Linked DNA regions of Homo sapiens: regions 2, 3, 4, 5 and 6 are each linked to region 1. The links are contacts of gene promoters, found by promoter capture Hi-C in blood cells and fetal thymus (Javierre and others, 2016). All regions are on one chromosome and are shown on one strand. The core of a region is centred on a gene start or on the middle of the fragment in contact, and the rest is flanking DNA. Distances in the headings are between cores, read along the strand shown. Region 1 holds the start of NUDT7 (nudix hydrolase 7). Region 2 has its middle 35 kb from the start of CLEC3A. Region 3 overlaps CLEC3A (C-type lectin domain family 3 member A). Region 4 has its middle 15 kb from the start of CLEC3A. Region 5 has its middle 14 kb from the start of WWOX. Region 6 overlaps WWOX (WW domain containing oxidoreductase).

Region 1 (3,890 bases), core at 1-2,500:
AAAAATTAGCCGGGCATCGTGGCACATGCCTGTAATCCCAGCTACTCAGAAGGTTGAGGCAGGAGAATCGCTTGAACCCAGGAGGCAGAGGCTGCAGTGAGCCGAGATTGCCTACTGCACTGTAGCCAGGGCGGCAGAGTGAGACTCTGTCTCAAAAAAAAAAAAAAAAAAGTGTATACAAATGACTTCTCTGAGTTTCATCTTCATTTGTGTCAGGCTTGAGGATATTTAAGAAGATTAAATGATGCAGTTCATATACTGTGGCTGGCACACAGCTGGTGCTCAGGGAATGGTAACCACTGTCATAAATCTCCCCATCATTAGATAAGCAGTTGTTTGCAGGAGGTATTTGCTATTTTTTGCCTCTTTCTAGGTGGCAGGGTGCTCACCAGATGTGGTTGGGTAACGGCAGTGTATTTCAAAGACCAAATGGCCTGAAAAAAATCAGTGAATGCTGGCACAGGGATTGCACAGTGCATCTGGATGCACGCAGGCCAGCCTCCAGAAAAGGAAACTGTGGGCTGGTGGCTTTTAACCACCCGGAAACCACAGAACTGACCAGACAAACCAGCCAAAGTAAAAGGCTGCAAAAACGTTATCTGTCCACTTTAGGGGCTGGCCGCTGGAATAATCACCAAGGTATCAACAGCAGTAGCAGCCACCCCGTTCTGAGCATGGTCTCAATTTTGACGTTTCTCATTTTATCCTCACAACAGCCCGGCAAGTGATCACAGGGTCACCTCCAGGCTCAGAGAGTTTACGAAACTGACAGACCCAAGGTCACAACTGAAAGTAGCCACCGGGGGACTTGAATCCGGGGCTGCCTGCTGCGGGTCTGTGCCACTGTCGGGGGTCCTGGGGTCCAACTCTGGAGACGCGGATTGCAGAACAGCCAAGCCGGCTGGGAAGGGGAGCAGCGTGTATGTAAACCATACTGGCTTAAGCCGGCTCTGTTCCTGGCCAGAGCAGTGCAAAGGTTCGGGGACCCTGCGGGTTGCTGGAGGCGAGTGCTCCCCCATCCGGCGCTCGCAGGTGGACTGGCGGGAGCTGCAAAATCAGTCCCGGCCAAAAGGCCCCGGTGGCCTCCGCTACGATCAAGGCCGGGCCTGACCAAGCTCGGGGTGCCAGGGCCCGGAAAGCCTTTACCTGACTGGCTCCTCGGGAAGACCAAGTCGTGACATTGCCCTGGGGAATGTTTGTTTCCGGGCGGACTCCTCGGAGCTGCTCGGTCGGTCGCGCTTGCGCAGAGCAGCTCTGGGCTTGGGAGCGGCCTAAAGCCAGAGAGAGGGGCGGGGCTTAGAGCACGAGGCGGGGTGGTGTCTGGGGCGGAGACAGGGGGCGGGGCGGTGCGAGATCTGGGATCGGAGGCCGGGATCGGGGCGGGGCGGGGCTTATAGCCAGAGGCGGGACTTGAGGTGGGGAGAGGCGCGGGGCGGGACTTAGGGCCGGGTGTTCCTGGTTGCTCAAAGCAGTTTCTGCCGGGCTCCTTGGGCTTCTATGGAAGCAAGAGGTATAGGAGGAGTTGTGGAATTTAGAGCTGGAAGAGTTAAAAAAAAAAAAAATACAGTGTTGGTGAGGTGATAATATTTTACACTCGCATTCGCTGTTGCTGGAAGGTTAAGGTGATTCATTCAACTTTTTGGAACTGCTGTCAGCACCTGTTCACCGACCACCTGTATGCACTGGGTGCAGATCCCACAGCTAGCGAAAAGACACGTGGAGCTCACAGTCAAATGGTAGAAACATAAATTAATCACACAGGGCTGGATGCAGTGGCATATGCTTGTAATTCCAACACTTTGGGAGGCCAAGAGGGGAGGATCACTTGAATCCAGGAGTTCGAGCCCAGCCTGGGCAACATGGCGAAACCCCATCTCTACAAAATAAAAATAAAAAATTAGCCAGGCGTGGTGGCACACACCTGTGGTCCCAGCTACTCAAGAGGCTGAGGTGGGAGGATCGCTTGAGCCCAGGAGGTCGAAGCTGCAGTGAGCCGTGATAGCACCACTGCACTCCAGCCTGACAGAGGTAGACCGTCTCAAAAATAAGAAGAAGAAGATAAGAAGTTTTTAATGCAAAAAAAAAAAAAAAAAAAAATCACACTGATAAAGCAGTGGCCTTTGGTCCTTCTAGAGCGTGTGAAGGAGAAATGTGACCCAATTAGGAGACAGAAGAGGCTTGGTAGAGGAAATAGAAGTGCAGCTCATCTTGAAAGCAGTAGTTCTCAAAGTGTGGTCCTCAGACCAGCAGAATCAGGATCACTTTGGTCCTGTTAAAAATGTGGACTCTGGGCCAGGCGCTGTGGCTCACACCTGTAATCCCAGCACTTTGGGAGGCCAAGTCGGGTGGATCACCTAAGGTCAGGAGTTTGAGACCAGCTTGGCCAACATGGTGAAACCCCATCTCTACTAAAAAAACAAAAATTAGCCAGTGGCAGGCGCCTGTAATCTCAGCTACTAGGAGGCTGAGGCAGGAGAATCGCTTGAACCTGGGAGGCGGAGTTTGCAGTGGGCCGAGATCGCGCCATTGCACTCCAGCCTGGGCAAAAAAAAGCGAAACTCTGTCTCAAAAACAAAACAAAACAAAACAACAACAACAACAACAACAAAAACCAAGAAAGAAAGAAAGGAAAGAAAGAAAAGAGAAAAGAAAAGAAAAGAAAAAAGACGAAAAGAAAAGAAAAGAAAAGAAAAGGTGGACTTTGGGGCCCATGTCACAACTGCTGAATCAGAAGCCAGGTGTCAGGCCCAGTGATCTGTGCTGTAAGGGGATTCTGATGCTCTGTGCGGGATAGAGGACATAAATGAGGAAAAAGGCAAGGGAGAGTGTTCAAGGAAGAGGGCAAAGTTTGTGCAAAGACAGCAGAAAGGGGCTGGAGAACAGTGTGTGTGAGGGAGCCTGGTGCGAGCTGAGAATCCAGGGGTCAGTGTAGGGCTGACTTCTCCCTTACAGGCACAGGACACACACAGTAATTTTAGGGACCTGTGAAAATGTTTTAATTGTAATTTCTTTTTAAATTAGAAGAAGAAAAGGTATGTAATAAAAGCAATATATAATAATGAATCCAGCTTGGATGATAGTCATTTTATGAATTCAGTCATAAAATATTCACTTTAAAATTATTTTATGGAAGAAGGGGTGCACAAAAACAAAGTAGCTAGGGCCCATGAAAGTAATATTGTGGCTGGCCCTAGGTCAGTGGGGCAGTTTGTGAAATTATTAATGAAATGAAATATTAATGAAATATCGCTGTGATATTTACAACATCCAGTGTTTACACACCGTGACATCAATGAAATATCGATGTGATATTTATAATATCCAGTGTTTACACACTGTGATATTAATAAAATATGGCTGATATTTGTAATATACAATGTTTACACACCGTGATATTAATATAATATCGCTGTGATATTTATAATACCCAGTGTTTCCACACTGTGATATCAATGAAATGTCTCTGTGATATTTGTAATATCAAGTGTTGATGCACCATAACATCAATGAAATATCACAGATATTTACAACATCCAGTGTTTACACACCATGACCTCAATGAAATATCAATATGATATTTATAATATCCAGTGTGTACACACCGTGATATTAATAAAATATGGCTGTGATATTTGTAATATACAGTGTTTACACACCGTGATATTAAGCAAACATCGCTGTGATATTTATAGTATCCAGTGTTTACACATCGTGATATAAATGAAATATCGCTGTGATGTTTATAATATCCAAGGTTTACAAACTGTGATACCGATGAAACATCGCTGTGATATTTATAATACCCGATGTTTACACAAAGTGTTTACACACTATGATGTTAAATATCGTTGTGATTTTTATAATATCCCGTGTGAAATTAATGAAATATC
Region 2 (3,599 bases), core at 218-2,717, 270 kb before region 1:
AGGTCCAGAGATCAAATAACTTGGTCAAGGTCATCCAGCTAGTAACTATACAGCTGGTCAGGATTCAAACCCAGGCCATCTGTCTTCAGAGTCTCTAGTTTTGACCACAGAACTATGAGCCAAATTTGGCAGGCAAAACCAAGAGTGTCCATCCCACCTCCATTCCATAGAGCTTCTTTATCCTCTATCCAAACACCACCTCTTCCACTGTTGCGCCCCCAAGCCCCATGCATCTCTTCTCTTTATGCTTCTAGCTTTTTCCTGGTGATTGATGTCCCTGTCTCACACCATCTTCTCAACCATGGACTTTTTTTGGAGGTGGGGAGACAGAGTCTTGCTCTGTTGCCCAGGCTGGAGTACAGTGGCACAATCTTAGCTCACTGCAACCTCCACCTCCTGGGTTCACTCCATTCTCCTGCCTCAGCCTCCTGAGTAACTGGGACTACAGGCGCCGACCACCACGCCTGGCTAATTTTTTGTATTTTTAGTAGAGATGGGGTTTCACCGCGTTAGCCAGGATGGTCTCGATCTCCTGACCTCGTGATCCACCCGCCTCGGCCTCCCAAAGTGCTGGGATTACAGGAGTGAGCCACTGCACCCGGCCCAACCATGGGCTTTTTGCCAGCAGTGGCCAGGCTGTGTTTAACTTCTTCACAACATGCAAAACAGGGCCATACACATAGCCAAGGCTTAGTAATATTTGTAGAACTGAATCAAGTCTCTTTCATAATATTAACATTAGGAGGGAGAGTGAGAGAGAGAACGAGAGGTCCTGAGTAAGAATGGGAGTTTTAAAAATACACTCTGAATTTATCTAGTTAATAATTAAATTATCTAAGTGCAATTTAATGATAGACTGACTTCCTTCATTGCTAGTTGATTAATCTCAAAGGACCATTGGGATAATTAAACTTCTGCCTCCAAACAAAGACAAGCAGAACAGCTCTTAACATCCGCGGTCAGCCTGAGCAGCAGCCTGGGCTCAGTAAATTGATATTTTGTTTGTTTTAGCAAAGGATGAAGAGAACAAATGTATTGTGATTCTTGGGGCTGGTCTGATTCCCTTTTTCCCAGCATAGCCCATTAATTCATCACTGCTGCTGGGTCCTCTCCTGTTGGCCTTGGATAGAGTTCTCCAGGATCAGGAAAACAGCAATAATCCCTTCTCACTCCCTCAGGCTTTTGAAATACTGTGAAGGGCTGGTCCCAGAAGTCAATTTAATTATGACACTAGCTTAGCTGTTGAATAATTTTTTCCAGCTTAAGCAGTAATGCATGTTTTCAGTGACTTGGACATTAGAGAGAACTTGGCTTGGTTTCTAAGCCCTAATTCTGGAAACTCAGTTGCTAGCTGTGTAGTTTTGGGCACTTTATTTTACTTTTCTGTGCTTCATTTTGTCATCAGTTAAATGGAAATAGCATCACTTACTTTATAGGGTTTTTTCTGGGTGTAGTTGGCAAGTTAAGACATGTAAAATGCTTTTACTTGGGTTCCACAATAGTATCCCTCAAGACAAGGACTTGGGTGGAAATGGTTTATTGGGAATGTGATCTCAGAAAGCAGGAGCAGGAGTGGGAGAATGAGACAAGGAAGGAAGAAAAGCCAGTAAGGGGCATGCTGTTGACTGAGTTGCCATTGTGGGAAATTTGCATTTCATCCTGCCAAGGGGCCCTTTGAGCTACTGTGTGGAACACACCTTCAAATCATGCGACTAGAAGGTGGGAAATCTTGGCATTTATCCACTGGCTGCCATCTTCCACTGGTTGAAGCTACGACCTGCCCCCCACCACAGTAACTCTGGGTTACCCCCATGCATTCGTCTCCTGTGATGTTGGAGGAAGCCTGCAGGCACAGTAGAAAGACCAGTGCAGGTGCTTGATGTGGAAAGCTGTCCCCATGCCAGGAACTGTCTATAGCTGCAGGTGAACTCTGGTGCACCAAGACAATATGTGGTGGGTGTCAGTGGTGATTTCTACAGGGGCTTCAAACAGTGTCTGGTACACAATGAGTATTCCATATACTGTAGCTGTAGTGGACATAGGTTTAACCATCCAGCATCACTTCCTATAAGGATCCTTCTGCAGCTTGACATGGTCCTGATTGGCTTATCAATCAGGTTGCTGGAACCTACAGGTGTGGGTATGTGACCCGGGCTGGCCAATCAATAGCCATCCCTCTGCTTCAGTGACTGTTTTACAGACTAGCATGTGACCAAAGATGGGCTAATCGGAGCCTTCCTGAGAGCACCTTGGTTCACACTAAAGCTAGTGAAGAGAAAGTTCTTTTTCTTTGCCAGGTGGTCGTTGGAATGCCTGGCCTCCATCTTGTCCCAGCCATTGAGAGGAGTCTTTCTGTCACATGGAGCCCTGGGTTCTAGACCGGACTCTTCTGCTTTCCGACTGAGTGTACATAGGCAGGCCACCTAACCTCTCTGAAATCCAGGATCCTTATCTGTAAGTGAGGATAATGCCTGATTTTCTAGGCACTGCCGCGATTCAGTGAGGGTATGTGTCAAATGCCTGGCAAGTAGCAAGTCCTCGGCAAATGCTAGTTTCATTTCCATGGTTGGTCTTGATTCAATTCCATTCTATGGGCATCTGTCAACTCTGAGCTCGGGCACGTTTTTGAAAACGATTCCAATCTTTTGAGTGTCAGTGTTTGTGAATATGCTGCATGGGTCATTTGCACTAGTTTTAACTCCCATGAATGGTGATTTACTTTCTGGGAGCTTCTACTTCCATGGAGACGATGCCCCATATCTCCAGAAAGACAGAACCACAGCCCCTCCTTGTCTCACAACTCCTGAAATGGAGAGGAGTTCTTTTGTTCCCATCCATGCCAATTCCATGGGCACCTTATCTCATGACTAAATAGACAATGGGTGGATGCTGGGAGACTGGCCAAAGAACTGTTATTCCAATATGGCACTTTCATCTGTTCCACCTCCCACAACTGAACCAAGTGAAATAGTAAAGCTCATTCTGGGAAGACTTCCCATGGTCTTCTCTTACTTGAGACACTCTCTAGCAATCTCTTGATTCATCCCTCAGTGAATTATTCTGCTTTTAGTACAAAATCCAGAACCTTTGAAGTGAAATCCATGGATTTCCATAATCCAGTCCTATTGATTTTCTATCTTTCCTCTTGATGCATGCAGTGGTTAAGTGGACCATTCCATGAACCTACCCTGGGCTTCCTCACTGATGGACCTAATGATAGTTACTTCTCCTAGATGTCTCTCTTTGCCTGTTCCTGATAGATATTTCTCATCAATTACAGCCTCTTTGCCACTCGGCCCACATAAATGCCCAGTACCAAGGCAGGCTCTACAAACAAATTGCCATTTGCACAATAAGTACCTTATTTATTACCACATAATTAAACTGAGTTCCTGAATGGCAGGGGCTATGCACTTATTTTTGCAGCTAAGACACTAAAAATAATATGTCGGGAACATACTAGGCATTTGATCAGTGTTTTAATGAGTGGAGAAACCTGGTTTTGGAGGCATTTGTTACCTGGCTTTTGGACTGGAATTGTGGGTCATGATTTCAGCCGGGTTACACCTACACTGTTACATTTGATCTAGAATATATAC
Region 3 (3,683 bases), core at 924-3,423, 310 kb before region 1:
AATTCAGTTTTCAGCTTCCAAAGATTGGTTGCCCATAATAGACTTAAACATATAATGATGGCTAAAAAAAATAAGTATACGAAAATGTAAAAAAGGAAATGTAAGTCCACTCTCAATCTCATAAAAGGTGAGAGTAAGGATGCTAAAGCAAAATAAATGTAGGTTCTTTTTTTCTGTTTCCGTTTATCATGCAATCTGCTTCTTTGATATGCCTTAGGGTTACCCATTTAAGTTAGAGGTTGTAATGCAATGGTGGGAATGAAAATTGATCAAATATACACCTTGTCATTTCATTTCAAATTGCGGCTGGAAACTTCCAAAAAAAGGGTAGGCATGAAGAAAAAAAAAAAATCAAATCAGAACCTCTTCAGGGGTTTGTGTTCTGATATGGCAGACAAGATACAAGTCCCACCAGGAGATGGAGCAATTCAAAATAAGGGTAATGGGCTGACAAGGTATTATTGCCAGCATGGGACAGAATGAGCAACAGGCTGAAAAGTTTTTGGATTATATAGCACCTAGAGTCTCTGATGTAGGGAATTTTTGTTAGTCAAACATACGCTAAACTTCCAAGGGAAAATCTTTCAGGTAGCCTAAGCTTGCTTTTCTAGAGTGATGAGTTGCATTGCTACTGTGATTTTTTGAAAACAAACTGGGTTTGTACAAGTGAGAAAGACTAGAGAGAAAGATTTTAGTCTGTTTAGCAGAAGCCATTTTATCTGCGTGCACATGGATCAATATTTCTGATCCCCTATACCCCAGGAAGGGCAAAATCCCAAAGAAATGTGTTAGCAAAATTGGCTGATGCTATCATATTGCTATGGACATTGATCTTGTGTTGCAATTTTTTAATAAGTAAAAATTATGATTTTTACTTGATCTTAGAGATCATGAACCTATAAGTTATGATGAATCTTGCTTGGAGGACACATTGGAGAAAGACCTATTGAGGGATGGTGAACTCGCATATGTATCTCTTGCTGCTGCGACAGGCCTCATCACTCCACTTGCCCTGAGCTGATTGGGAGAACAGGACACAGTTTTCTCGCTTGCCACCGTTAGGCTGTGCACGGTCCCAGTTGAGGAAGGAGATAGCGATTCCGTTGACGTCAACAAACTTGCCTTCCGTGACCATGTCATTGATGCCCAGCCAAAAGTCATTGACACCTGGCAGGCTCCTTTTACCATAGTCTTGGAGGGCGTTGATTTCGTCGGAGTTCCTGGGGATAACCAGGATTCCTCCTTTGGAAATGCAGTCTTCATTGGCCTCATGGAAATGCTTCAAACCTTCTGAAGCAAGGTAGCATTTCTTGTGAACTTTAGTGCCTCGGAGACAGACTGTGAAGATGTGAAGTGTAACATATTAAGATGCATTTTGAGTGTATTATGACTAGGGCTGGACCTGGCAAATAGCAATAAGTATTTGTGGAATGAAGTATGATAATGATGAGACAACAGTTAAAATTTTCTATGTGCCGGACAACATGCTAAGCATTTTACATAAATTAAGTTACATAATCCTGACAACCCCATGAAGTTGTATTTTATTACCCCTATTTTTACATATCAGGATATTTAGGCTTAGAGAAGTTGTTACTTGTAACACCTTAGCATTTTTTTTTTTTTTTTTTTGAGTTGGAGTCTCGCTCTGTCGCCCAGGCTGGAGTGCAGTGGCGCCATCTCGGCTCACTGCAAGCTCCGCCTCCCGGATTCACGCCATTCTCCCGTCTCAGGCTCCCGAGTAGCTGGGACTACAGGTGCCTGCCACCACACTCGGCTAATTTTTTGTATTTTTAGTAGAGACGGGATTTCACCGTGTTAGCCAGGATGGTCTCGATCTCCTGACCTCATGATCCGCCTGCCTCGGCCTCCCAAAGTGCTTGGATTACAGGCGTGAGCCACTGCGCCTAGCCACATTTTTTTAAATGAAGTAATTTTTGCAGCATGTGAGATCACAGCTACCCAAATGCAGGTCTGCCCTATCCCAAGACATGGCCTTAAACTTCATGCTGTTCTGATATATACATGCTTGCTACTCTGTGTTGGATTTCTTTGGGAGTTTTGGAACTAGATGGTATTTAATATTTATTTTTAAAAATATTTGTTTAAAAAAAAAATGCTTGGCGTGGTGGCTCACACTTATAATCCCAGCACTTAGGGAGGCAGAAGCGGGTGGATCACAAGGTCAAGAGTTCAAGACCAGTCTGGCCAACATAGTGAAACCCCGTCTGTACTAAAAATACAAAAAATTAGCTGGATGTGGTGGTGTGTGCCTATAATCCCAGCTACTCAGGAGGCTGAAGCAGGAGAATCGTGCGAACCTGGGAGGCAGAGGTTGCAGTGAGCCGAGATTGCGCCATTGTACTCCAGCCCGGGCAACAGTGCAAGACTCTGTCTCAAAAATCAATCAATCAATCAATCAATTAAATTCTAGTTTTGCATGTGGAGAGACAGGGATTTTCTTAAGCAGATAACTGAGCCTTGGTAATATTGTTTAGATTATTCAGGATAAACTGAGCATAAAGATAGTTTTAGGCCGTAGCACTGGAGAGTCAGGCCTCAGAGCCCATAGTGCCTGGGTTTAGGTCTCATCTCTGACATTTAACTAGCTGTGTATCTCTTGAACAAATTACTTACCTTCTTTGTGCCTCATTTTCCTCATCTGTAAAATTAGGATCATAATAGCTTAAGTTGCTGGAGGATTAATGGATTTGTGTTTATAAAGAATTTCTAGTACCTGACTGTGGGTAAAGGATGAACCAAACTCACCTTCTGCATAAGCATTTGACTGTCTTTTAACTTTCTAATTCTGTTCCCCCGGAAGCCTGATAAAGGGAGTATGTCACCCTTGTTACTAGGCAACATTGCTTGTGGTAAAAATGACCCCAGGTTGGTAACATGCATCTGGTCTGGGAGTTATAAATACTTGATGGAAAGCCGTAACTTCAGTCTTCCCTGAAGGCAGTAACTTGTAATGAGGCAGGTCTCTTGTGAGGAACCTCAACACCTTGCTTTTGAAATTGCTACAAAGGATATTAGCTCCTTGGGGGATGAGCCTTGTAAACCAGGGCTGTTCCCAAACCTGCCCACATGGCTCACTTCCTCACCCCTTGGAGAATAGCTCCTGGGCAGTAGCGCATGTGGCTGCATAACTGTGGGGAGGAACGCTGGCGCTGCCCTGTTGGCAAGCTGCGGTTCTAACCCATGTCCTTCCAGCATCTTAGGCTGGGTGTGGCCCGAGAGAGTCCTGGTGGCCTGATAGGCACTTAGCTATCATCCAATAAATGCTAATCATTTTAGTCATTTCATACTGGCTTCATTCTGTTTCACTACTCTTTAGAGAATAAGTATGGACTGACTTTTCAAATTTATTCCTGAACTACTTATTTTTATTTCTATACCACCCATATATAGGAGAATGGGATTGTAAATGAAGCTGATTTCCTAAAACAATCATCTCCCGGCATTGGGGCCCTCTTATTGGCCACATTATTGATTTGTCAATGTTTCTTTTAAAAAGACGTCCCCCAGAAATTGACCCAGAAATTTTCCTGTCTCCTTTGGGACAAGGCACTGAGAAGGTCTGCACCTTACCTGTCTGCAGGGCTTGAATTTCCTTCAAGGCATTGACTTCTGTCCAGAGCTTTTCAATTTGAGTCTTCAGATCTCCATCCTTGTCTGGG
Region 4 (3,977 bases), core at 280-2,779, 290 kb before region 1:
CACCATCTTGGTCAGGCTGGTGTTGAACTCCTGACCTCGTGATCCACCTGCCTCGGTCTCCCAAAGTGCTGGGATTACAGGCGTGAGCCACCGTGCCCAGCTCAGAAAAAGAATTATTTCTAATCAAAAATTAAAAGGATATTACTAAAAGGGGATTAATATATTGGACTTTTAAGCCATCATTAAAATTCTGCTATAAAAGAACGTTGATTAACACAGAAAATACCCATGGAATATTTCCAAAGGGGAAAAGCAGTTCATACAAAAGAATGCAGGGGCTCGGCGTGGTGGCTCACGCCTGTAATCACAGCCCTTTGGGAGGCCAAGGTGGGTGGATCAGCTGAGGGCAGGAATTCTTCGAGACCAGCCTGACCAATATGGTGAAACTCCGTCTCTAGTAAAAAACACAAAATAATTAGGTGGGTATGGTGGCGTGTACCTGTTAGTCCCAGCTACTCTGGAGACTGAGACAGGCGAATTGCTTGAACCTGGGAGGGCAGAGGTTGCAGTGAGCTGAGATAGCGTGATTGCACTCCAGCCTGGGCCACAGAGCAAGACTCCGTCTCAAGAAAAAAAATGCAGGCGGTAGAGAGCCATGGGTGAGGGATGTGTGCAGATGAGTATCTGTATGGTAGGGATAGGTCAAAATAATAGTGGTTCCTTTGAGAGGATGAGATGGTAGTTTTTTTTTTTTTTTTTTTTTTTTTTGAGACGGAGTCTCGCTCTGTCGCCCAGGCTGGAGTACAGTGGCGCGATCTGGGCTCACTGCAAGCTCCGCCTCCCGGGTTCAGGCCATTCTCCTGCCTCAGCCTCCTGATTAGCTGGGACTACAGGCGCCCGCCACCACGCCCGGCTAATTTTTTTTTTTGTAATTTTTTAGTAGAGACGGCGTTTCACCGTGTTAGCCAGGATGGTCTCAATCTCCTGACCTCGTGATCCACCCGCCTCGGCCTCCCAAAGTGCTGGGATTACAGGCGTGAGCCACTGCGCCTGGCCTTCTCTTTGTTTTTCTAAGTCTTCTGCATAAAACATATCAATGTTTTAAATAGACGTTTTATTGAAATATAAACAGAAACGTTTCCAAATTGGAAGCATATCACTTTCTGATTTTTCATAACATAAATAGGAATGCGCCTCTAGACCTGGCTATAAAGCAAGCTGGAGACTGGCAGCTCTCCCGACTTGTCTTTGTGCCTGTCCCAGCCACGACTCTACGAAGGGTAAACATCTTCAGTGGCTTTGGAAAGTGTCACTTGGCGATGCTCAGCTGTGTCCCAGACTTCCCTGTGTGTGTCCAGTTAAGGTGAGCCACCAGCTTTCCTTGCAAGATACCAAAGCAGGATGCAGTGAGAGGTGCCCATCTCCATGGCTGGCCCTGTGGACCCCAAGTGCCAGCATTAGAGCTTCATAGGTAGCAGTTTATAGACTGTTTAACCGGTATGCACAATTACACAGGGTCAAATCCCTGTAATAAACCCTTTAAAGTGTGTGTGTGTGTGTGTGTGTGTGCTCGGCACACACCTGCAATTCCAGCACTTTCGGAGGTCAAGGCGGGCGGATTGCCTGAGCCAAGGAGTTGGAGACCAGCCTGGGAAACATGGCGAAACCCTGTCTCTACTAAAAACATAAAAAAAGTAGGTGTGGTGGTGTGCACCTGTAATCCCAGCTACTCTGGAGGCTGAGGCATGAGAATCACTTGAACTGGGGAGGTGGAGGTTGCAGGGAGCTGACCGAGATCATGCCACTGTACTCCAGTCTGGGCAACAGAGTGGGACTCTGTCTCAAAAAACAAAATGGAGTTTAAAAAATAAAGTGTGTGTGTGTGTGTGTGTGTGTATACACACATGTGTATCTCCTGATGCGCTTTGTTTCCCTGAGTCCTGTGTGACACAGCATTAGAGGGTAGGTGGTGGTGACCCACTTCCAGATGGTTCCCAATGACTGCTCCTTACTTCTTGATATTCATTCATACTTACATAGTCTCCTCTTACACTGAACAGGGATGACCTGTGTAATGGATAGGATATTGTGCAAATGGGAGTATGTGACCTCCAAGATAACGTCATAAAAAGTATTGCAACTTCCACTTGTCTCTCTTGGATTGCTTGCCCTGGGGGAAGCCAGCGGACATTCAGCCAGAACCACCCAGCTAAACCACTCCCAAACTCCTGACCCTTAGAAGACACTAGATGTTGATCATTATTTTGAGTTGCCAAAGTTTGGAATAATTTTTTTTTTTTTAGAGACACGGTCTCATTCTGTTTTCCAGGCTGAAGTGTAGTGGTGCGATCATAGCTCACTGCAACCTTTAGCTGCTGGGCTCACACGATCCTCCTCCTGCAGCCTCCAGAGTAGCTAGGACTACAAGTGTCCACCATCACGCCTGGCTAATTTTTTTTTTTTAAGTTTTTTGTTAGAAACGTGGTCTCCCTATGTTACCCGGGCTGCTCTCGATCTCCTGGCCTCAAGCAATCCTTCCCCCTCAGCCTCCTAAAGCACTGGGATTACAGGTATGAGACGCTGCACTTGGCCTAGGGGTAATTGTTACACAGCATTAGATCCCAAAATTGTGAACAAATGATTGTATTTTTGGCTCTGAGTTTTAGGCTTGTTTGTTATCTAACAATAGATACAAAACTCATTTCTAAAATCCTGACAGTCATGCTACAAATCTGAATCGGTTAGTTGTATGTACTGCTGTAAAGAAAATCAGGCCGGGGCGGTGGCTCATGCCTGTAATCCCAGCACTTTGACAAGCTGAGGTGGGTGGATCGCTTGAGGTCAGGAGTTTGAGACCAGCCTAACCAACATGGTAAAACCCTGTCTCTACTAAAAACACAAAAATTGGCCGAGCATGATGGCGGGTACCTGTAATCCAAGCCACTCAGGAGGCTGAGGCACAAGAATTGCTTAAACCCAGGAGGTGGACGTTGCAGTGAGTCAAGATTGCACCACTGCACTCCAGCCTGGGCAACAGAGAGAGACTCCATCTCAAAAAAAAAAAAAAAAGAAAAAGAAAAAAAGAAAAGAAATCCAGTTAACACCATGTTGAACAAATGGGGGTATATTTTTCTCATATAAGAAGATATTTAGAGAGAGAGGGTAGTTCATTCTAGTGTGGGCCCAGTGGCTTTACATTTGGGTACTGAATTAGTATCTTTGCAATTTCTATTGCTTCCCCCTCAGTCACAAGATGGCTGCAGCACCTCCAAGTGTCACGTCTTCACAGCATCACTTTGAAAGGAGGGAGCAGGGGGTATTAATGGGAAGGAAAGATGGTGCTCACATACCTCCCTCTTATTAGAGAGGGAACTTGCTCTCAGATGCCCCCTAGCGGATTTCCCCTTAATGTTTCATTGGTCAAAATTGGGCCACAGGGTCATTCCTAGACTGGGGCCAGGAGAACATTTTCTGAGCGCAAAAAAGTACCAGATACTTGAACAAAACAGATGTTCTGGGCCCGGCACCCATGGCTCATGCCTGTAATCCCAGCACTTTGGGAAGCCGAGGCAGGCAGATCACCTGAGGTCAGGAGTTCAAGACCAGCCTGGCCAACATGAGAAAACACCGTCTCTACTGAAAACACACAAAAAATTAGCCAGGCATGGGGGCGGGCGCCTGTAATCCCAGCTACTGGGGAGGCTGAGGCAAGAGAACTGCTTGAACCCCGGAAGTGGAGGTGGCAGTGAGCCAGGATCACACTGCTATACTCCAGCCTGGGCTACAAGAGTGAAACTCCATCTCAAACAAACAAACAAACAAACAAACAAAAATACCAAGTTTTCTGTTAACAAGAGAATCAGCAGGGGCAGCTTTTAGATAGGTAGTCAGTAAGGTTTGCTGTAGAGTCTTTACCAGACAAAATCCATTAGATTTCAACCTTTTCAGGAAGGACTCTGCTGACCGTCAGAACTTTCTTATAAACTTTAGGGGGACATGGAGTACTGGATACTTTCTCTTTGAAACACTAAGCACTG
Region 5 (3,646 bases), core at 1,061-3,560, 360 kb before region 1:
TAGCCAACATGGCAAAACCCCATCTCTACTAAAAATACAAAAATTAGCCAGGCATGGTAGCGGACGCCTATAATCCCAGCTACTCGTAGGCTGAGGAAGGAGAATTGTTTGAACTTGAGGGTGGAGGTTGCAGTGAGCTGAGATCGTGCCACTTCACTCTAGCCTGGGTGGAAGAGTGACACTCCGTCTCAAAAAAAAAAAAAAAGAAAGAAAGAAAGAAAATGTTTAGCCATCCAGAAAAGTTGAGAGAAGAGTACAACGAATGCGCAAATACTCCTGCCCCCATATTTGCTTTATTATGTATATAGTAGAGTTGGGGGTCTTGTTATGTTGCTCAGGCTTGTCTCATATTCCTGGCCTCAAGCAATCCTCCCACCTCGGCCTCCCAAAGTGCTGGATTAAGAGGTGTAAGTCAGCTTACTCAGCCCATATTTGCTGTAAAGAGCCCATTCTGTTGTGTGAGCTCAGCTAGATGAAAATGCATTGCCAGCGTCATGACAATTGACCTATGAATACATCAGCAGGTCTCTCCTAAGAGTGAGGTTATTATTCTCCATATCCCCAATGCCATTTTCATACCTAAGAAAATGACTGATATCTCCATTATGTCAATTAATTGTACCTAAACTATTATTTTGGGTTTTTAAAATTGAGATACAATTCACATACCATAAAATTCACCACCCCCTCAAAGTGTACAATTCAGTGGTATTTAGTATATCTATAGAGTTCTGTAATCATCACCACTATCTAATTTTAGAATATTTTCATCACCCCAAAAAGAAACCTATTAGTACTCTCTCTTCATTCTCCATAGCCCCTAATCCCTGGCAACCATTAATTGACTTCCTATCTGTATGAATCTACCTGCTCTGGGCATTTCCTATAAATTGAATCAAATAACAAGTAGTCTTTTGTGCCTGGTTTCTTTCACTTAGCACAACGTTTTTGAGGTTCATTCATACTGTAGCAGGGATCAATACTTTGTCCTTTTTATGACAGAATAATATTCCGTTATATGGATGTGCCACATTTTATTTATTCATTCATCACTTGATGAACTTTTAGGTTGATTTCACTTTTTTGGTTATTATGAGTAATGCAGCTATGCACATTTTTGTGTAGGCATGTGTTTTCTTTTCTATTCTTTTTTGGTAGAGACAAGGTCTCCCTATGTTGCCCAGGCTGATCTCAAACTCATGAGTTCAAGAAATCCTCCTGCCTCAGCCTCTCAAACTGCTAAGATGACAGGGAGGAGCCACCACTCTCAGCTGACATGTGTTTTCATTTCTCATAGCTAGGAGTAGAGTTGCTGGGTCATATGGTAACTCTACACTTCACTTTTTGTAAAATGTCTTTTATAGCTTTGTCCCCCTCTGAGCACCAACTCATTCAAGGTCCATGCATTGCACTTGGTCGCTTGTCTCTTTGGTCTCATTTATTCTAGAGATTTGCCCCCCCCCCAAATCTTTTTCCCTGTGACAATGACATCTAAAGGTTCCAGGTCATGCCGTCTTACAGAATGTGCGCCAAAGATTCTTCTGATTATTTCCTCATGGCCCTATTTAAATTGCTCCTCTGTCTCTATGTCTTCTGTAACCTGGAGGTAAGACCAGAAGCTTTATTAGATTCTTGGCAAAAATTGTTCTCAGGTAATGTGTAGTATTTTCTACTGTTTTGGTGTTAAAATGTTTTACCTTTTATGGAAGGTGATAGTGATGGCAGGGTATTGATTTGTTTTCTCACTTTTATTTTATTACTTTTATTATTATTTTGGATAATAATAATACCCAGGCTGGAGGGCACTGGTATGACTGTGGCTTACTGCAGCCTCAACCTCCAGGGCTCAAGCGATCCTCCTACCTCAGCCGTCTGAGTAGCTGGAACTACAGGAGTACACCACCACATCTGGCTAATTTTTAAATTTTTCATAGAGACACGGTCTTGCTATGTTGTCCAGGCTGGTCTTGAACTCCTGAGCTCAAGTGATCCTCCTGCCTGGGTGTCCCAAAGTGCTGGGATTACAGGTGTGAGCCACCATGACAGGCCAGTGTTTTTGTTTTTTTTTTTTAAATGGTCTTTCTTGACACATTGATAAAGTTGATAATCTCGCTATAAAACTCATTAAAAACAATGCACAAATAACGATAAAAACAACAAACCAAAGCTTTTCTCTATTGCGTGAAATCTGAAAGATTGGGATTCATTAAACTAGGTAGCTTGTAAACCTAGCACCTATGATAGGCTGTGAAATGGGTTCCCTGAAGCATAACAGGGAGAGCCTGATTTTGTTTTATCATGAAAGTCCCCAGGACTAAGTAATAAAGCACATTTTCTCCTGGGCCACACTTAGGCCCTCTCCCTTGGTGAGTGCATTCATTGCTGTGACTTCTGGAAATTAGGCCTCTAAGTTTGGAAACTTCACTGGAAACTTCACTGAAGCCCCAAGCTTCAAAGTAGCCGTAGCATATAATGGCTAACTTGCTGGCATTGGTAAAATGGCATTTCAGTCCAACTTCATTCCTGTCTGCAGGGAAAAAAATCACCCTCCCGTGGGGGCAGGTATGTTGGACCCAAGCACTCAAAAATTGCAGCAACAAGTCCATTCTGTCTAAAGTCTTTTTTTTTTAATTGAGACGGAGTCTTGCTCTGTCACCCAGGCTGGAGTGCAGTGGAGCAATCTCAGCTCACTGCAACCTCCGCCTCTCAGGTTCAAGTGATTCTCCTGCCTCAGCCTCCCCTTCCCGAGTAGATAGGATTACAGACACCTGCCACCATGCCTGGCTAATTTTTTTTTTTTTTTTTAGTAGAGACAGGCTTTCACCATCTTGGCCAGGCTGGTCTCGAACTCCTGACGTCAAGTGATCCACCCGCCTCAGCCTCCCAAAGTGCTGGGATTACAGGCGTGAAATACTGTAAAGTCTTTCATTGTCTGTTTAGAGTGTCTTATTTTGGCTGCCGAAGTTTTGAAGATGCCGCTCTGATCCATTGCTGTTATAATCTTGCAAGTAAGTTCTTCCAAAGAGTCCAGGGCCTGGAGCCCAAGATTCACCCCAGATTTTGACAGACATGCACATGCAAAGGTACCAGAAAGTGGGTGAAGGGAAAAAAGGAAAGGAAGTGATGACTACAAAGCACTCAGCACAGCACCAGGCACAGAGTAAGCACTCAGTACCTGTTAGCTATCGTCATTGTTGTTGGTGATTAAAGCTGGGCTGGCAGAACCTTAAGACTCAAAAATGAGGCACCACTCTGATGTTAGATCTGACTTTAAAGTATATGCATAACTGTATGGAACGTTTTCCAAGCATTATCAGATACACCATCATCAGGAGTAGATAGAGGTGGGTATTAAAAGCCTTGCTCTATAGAAGCAATAACTGAGGCTTAGTTTAGCAAATAGCAAAGACTTAGCAAATGGTAAAGCAGAGACTCAATCCAAATTCTCTCAATTCTAAAGTCTGCAAGTCTGCATTTTTGGGGGTTTGTTTGTTTTTTGGGGTTTTGTTTGTTTGTTTGTTTGTTTTTGGAGACAGGATCTCACACTGTTGCCCAAGCTGGAGTACACTGGCACAAAAACAGCTCACTGCAGCCTCAAACTCCTGGGCTCAAGCTATCCTCCTGCCTCGGTCTCCTGAGTAACTGG
Region 6 (3,728 bases), core at 443-2,942, 390 kb before region 1:
GCAACTTCCGCCTCCTGGGTTCAAGTGATTCTCCCGCCTTACCCTCCCGAGTAGCAGGGACCACAGGCACGTGCCACCACACCCAGCTCATTTTTATATTTTTAGTAGAGACGGAGTTTCACCATGTTGGCCAGAATGGTCTCGATCTCTTGACCTCAGGATCCACCCACTTCGACCTCCCAAAGTGCTGGGATTACAGGCATGAGCCACCATGCCTGGCCTCCCTACTTTTTTTTTTTAAGGATGCGTGTGCGGGGAAAATAGAAGAATAAATCTAGCGATGTTAAAAGTTCCAGCGATGTTAAAAGTAGTCACTTCTGCTAAGATTACAGATACACACTGTTATACTTTGTATTTTTCTACAGTTACTATGTATTACTTTTATAATTAAAAATTCCTATTAAAAAGCAAAACAGCTGAGAGTGGTTTCTTTGCAGACACTTACTCAACAAAAAACACTTGTCCGTTCTCATCAGTTTCTTGTTCCCATCCGTATGGCAAATCTGAAACACAAGAAAGACAGGTCTACAGGTGCCAGGGAGAAGTAAAGACCATCCCTGGGTCAGGAAGGGAAGGAGCCCTCCCAGCCCCGCCCCCAAGCCTGTCCCTCCCACCCAGCAGTTGTCACATCAACTGGCTTTCGTCACATGTTCCAACTGCGACAGCTGCAGAAGGCCCCTGATCCCACCCTGGGCTCCACATTTTTGCCTCTTGTTTTGAAGAAAACCTATTTTATTCCTGATCGCTCTATAAACCATACTGGTTGTGCCAATCCATGGGAATTCTCCCTTGAATGAGCTCAAAGAACATATGTATATGCAGGGCAGGCACCCAACGTCATTCATACGCTGACCTCATATGACATTAGAGGGCACGGCCATTTTTTTTCATGTGCACATGTTGATTCTTCAGCTGGATCCTAAACCTCTTAAGGGCAGGAACCTTCTCATATTTTTTTTTGAGATGGGGTCTCACTATGTTGCCTAGGCTCACCTCGAATTCCCAGGCACAAGTGATCCTCCCACCTCTGCCTCCCAAAGGGCTGGGATCACAAGCACAAGCCACCGTGCCTGTCCCTTTCTTATACTTCTATTCCGTGGATCATACATTATCTCAGAATCACCTAGAAGTCATGGTAATCTTTACGAAATTTCCAAATACTTATATATTTAATTCCATAGTATAGCCAAGAACAATTTTATAAACACTGCAACGATAGGAAAACATCATAAACTGTGAATCAAAGGCCTCAATTATTTTCTGGTTTTTGTTGTTGTTGTTGTCGCTATTTTTCAGACAGCATCTCACTCTGTCACCGAGGCTGGAGCGCAGTGGTGTGATCTTGGCTCACTGCAACCTCCAGCTCCTGGGTTTGAGCACTTCTCGTGCCTCAGCCTCCAAAGTAGCTGGAATTACAGGCGCATGCAACCATGCCCAGCTAATTTTTGTATTTTTAGAAGAGATGCGCTTTCAACATGTTGGCCAGGCTAGTCTCAAACTCCTGACCTCAGGTGATCCATCCGCCTCGGCCTCCCGAAGTGCTGGGATTACAGGCATGAGCCACCACATCTGGCCATTTTGGTACTTTAAGACCAGTAAGAAATCATCCTCACTCCACCCTATGATCTCATCATCTTCTTCTGCCAAATCCCATAAGCTCCTCAGAGTGGGAGTCTGGTTCTCTACCAGAGAGCCCTCCCTAAACACACAATAACCTGTCACCTCTCTGCCAGTGACATTTCCTCATCTACTTAATGCTTCCATCCAAGATCCTTAGACAACAACATACAAACCTCCTGCCACTCGTTTTCTTTTTCCAGTTTTTGGATGTTCCCACTGAGTCTTCTCCTCGGTGTGACTGTTAAAAAACAAAAAATCCACAGTAATAAGTAAAAATTAACTCTTCTAAAAAGTAATCAATTGTATTAAATTTTTTCTCTCCCAGATAGCCAGATATAAGAAGGAAGTAGGGGGAAGAAGGAGAAAGAGGACTGTGACCCCAGCTACGGGGTCAACTTTAGGAGGTTTGCTGAATCACTCAAAATATCTAGAGGCCGTCGGGAGCGGTGGCTCACACCTGTAATCCCAGCACTTTGGGAGCCCTAGGGGAGCAGATCACAAGGTCAGGAGATGGAGACCATCCTGGCCAACATGGTGAAACCCTGTCTCTACCAAAAATACAAAATTAGCTGGGGACAGTGGCACGTGCCTGTAGTCCCAGCTACTCGGGAGGCTGAGGCAGGAGAATCGCTTGAGCCAGGGAAGCAGAAGTTGCAGTGAGCCGAGATCACGCCGCTGCACTCCAGCCTGGCGACAGAGCAAGACTCTGTCTCAAAAATAAATAAATAAATAAATAAATCTAGAGGCATTTTGCTGTGTATTTGTTTTGGTTTTATTCCACGATGTAGGGACAAAATTCATAATATCTAATTTATATAATCTCTTAAAATGTTTATTTATTTGTGTTTCTTTTTAAAGAATCAGGGTCTCACTATGTTGCCCAGGCTGGACTGGAACTCCTGGACTCAAGTAACCCTCCTATTTCAGCCTCTTGAGTGGCTGGGACTAGAAGCCCGTGCCACCTTGCCCAGCTAAAATGTTTATTCTTTCCACAGATGTAACTTCAAAGTGTTTCATTAAGCACTGGTTCCTAACTGGTCCCAAGAGGTAGTTAAGAGATGCAGTAAGACCTTCCCATAGGGCATCTAGCTGTGCGCTGTGCACCTTTGGTCAAGTGACCCCACTCCTTAATCTCCATCCCCTCATCTGCAAAATGGAAATAATCCTAGCACTGGTCTCAGGGGCTACTATAAGAATATTGTACATCCAGGGTTTCGCATAGCACTTGGCATACAAAAAGCTCTGAGAAATGTAAGCTGTTATTCTGAACAAATCAGTTACACAAACTAGTCCTATTTTTGCGTCAAACTTAACATTTCATTTCAGACCACCACCCAAAGTTATAATTAAAAACATAGGTCAATAACTAGAAACACGTGTCACCAGGTAATAAGGTATCCAGGAAAACATACAATTATTTCAAAAGGGAAACAGCCAGGTGCTACAAGAGGTATTCGAAGGGTAGGCTGCGTTTCCTAAAAGTTCACCTACTCATGCCAACCCAGAAAGTTATATTATTTAATCAGCAACATCTAGATGATAAGATGTGAACATTCTTTCCCTATCAATTATTTTACAGAAAATAAATACAGAGAGCACGAATTTTCTAAAAAATTCTACAACTTGCAAGCAAGGTCTTTTCATGAACTGCTGGCTTCTGGTCTGTTTGACAAAGTCTTGGCAGCTGGGTCTCTGTCATAGTGCAGGAATGCCTCACTCAGCACGCTGAAGACCTGAGCAGCCCATGCTAGCTGAGTCCAGCCAGTCTCCTCAGGGCTACTGCCACCTCACAGAGCTGCTGAAAAGGCGAGACACATGACACCTGTGACAGTGCTTGGAGAACGATTAAAACCTTGTACCAGCTACGGTATCAGTAGCAAGGACAAACTCCTACTTTGTACATCAACCACCATCCAATATCACTTGCAAAAAAAAGCAGCTCTGTGGCCGGGCGCGGTGGCTCATGTCTGTAATCCCAGTACTTCAGGAGGGCAAGGCAGGCGGATTACCTGAGGTCAGGAGTTCGCGACCAGCCTGAACAACATGGAGAAACCCTGTCTCTACTAAAAATACAAAATTAGCCTGGCGTGGTGGCACATGCCTGTAAT

Evidence for each region. Contacts are between HindIII fragments. The CHiCAGO score rates a contact against its expected background, and 5 or more counts as called.
Region 2: a contact is called between a fragment that was not itself captured here and the fragment with the promoter of NUDT7 in region 1, in 2 of 17 cell types (monocytes and M0 macrophages). The highest score is 6.3, in monocytes.
Region 3: a contact is called between a fragment that was not itself captured here and the fragment with the promoter of NUDT7 in region 1, in 2 of 17 cell types (naive CD4 T cells and non-activated CD4 T cells). The highest score is 5.4, in naive CD4 T cells.
Region 4: a fragment that was not itself captured here is called in contact with the fragment with the promoter of NUDT7 in region 1 in 1 of 17 cell types (monocytes); the score reaches 6.8 in monocytes.
Region 5: a fragment that was not itself captured here is called in contact with the fragment with the promoter of NUDT7 in region 1 in 2 of 17 cell types (non-activated CD4 T cells and total CD8 T cells); the score reaches 6.7 in non-activated CD4 T cells.
Region 6: a contact is called between a fragment that was not itself captured here and the fragment with the promoter of NUDT7 in region 1, in 1 of 17 cell types (naive CD8 T cells). The highest score is 5.3, in naive CD8 T cells.

The regions. Positions count from the first base shown.
Region 1 is chr16:77,719,874-77,723,763 of GRCh38, reverse strand. It overlaps NUDT7 (nudix hydrolase 7), which reads right to left and starts at 1,250. Exons shown (of 4, transcript NM_001105663.3): 1 at 1,147-1,250. The coding sequence starts at 1,181. RefSeq lists a silencer at 1,275-1,404 and an enhancer at 1,118-1,412. The HindIII fragment of the contact is 15,416 bases long and covers 1-3,890 here.
Region 2 is chr16:77,985,541-77,989,139 of GRCh38, reverse strand. No RefSeq gene overlaps it. Among named protein-coding and RNA genes, the nearest start is that of CLEC3A, 35 kb to the left of the region's middle. RefSeq lists an enhancer at 2,749-2,918. The HindIII fragment of the contact is 7,937 bases long and covers 1-3,599 here.
Region 3 is chr16:78,028,102-78,031,784 of GRCh38, reverse strand. CLEC3A (C-type lectin domain family 3 member A) reads right to left here. Exons shown (of 3, transcript NM_005752.6): 2 at 3,595-3,678; 3 at 1-1,338. The coding sequence ends at 944. Among named protein-coding and RNA genes, the nearest start is that of CLEC3A, 7.4 kb to the right of the region's middle. The HindIII fragment of the contact is 3,146 bases long and covers 601-3,683 here.
Region 4 is chr16:78,005,427-78,009,403 of GRCh38, reverse strand. No RefSeq gene overlaps it. Among named protein-coding and RNA genes, the nearest start is that of CLEC3A, 15 kb to the left of the region's middle. The HindIII fragment of the contact is 7,536 bases long and covers 1-3,977 here.
Region 5 is chr16:78,083,790-78,087,435 of GRCh38, reverse strand. No RefSeq gene overlaps it. Among named protein-coding and RNA genes, the nearest start is that of WWOX, 14 kb to the left of the region's middle. The HindIII fragment of the contact is 282 bases long and covers 2,170-2,451 here.
Region 6 is chr16:78,106,553-78,110,280 of GRCh38, reverse strand. WWOX (WW domain containing oxidoreductase) reads right to left here. Exons shown (of 9, transcript NM_016373.4): 2 at 1,794-1,858; 3 at 446-503. Among named protein-coding and RNA genes, the nearest start is that of WWOX, 8.8 kb to the right of the region's middle. The HindIII fragment of the contact is 4,709 bases long and covers 1-3,728 here.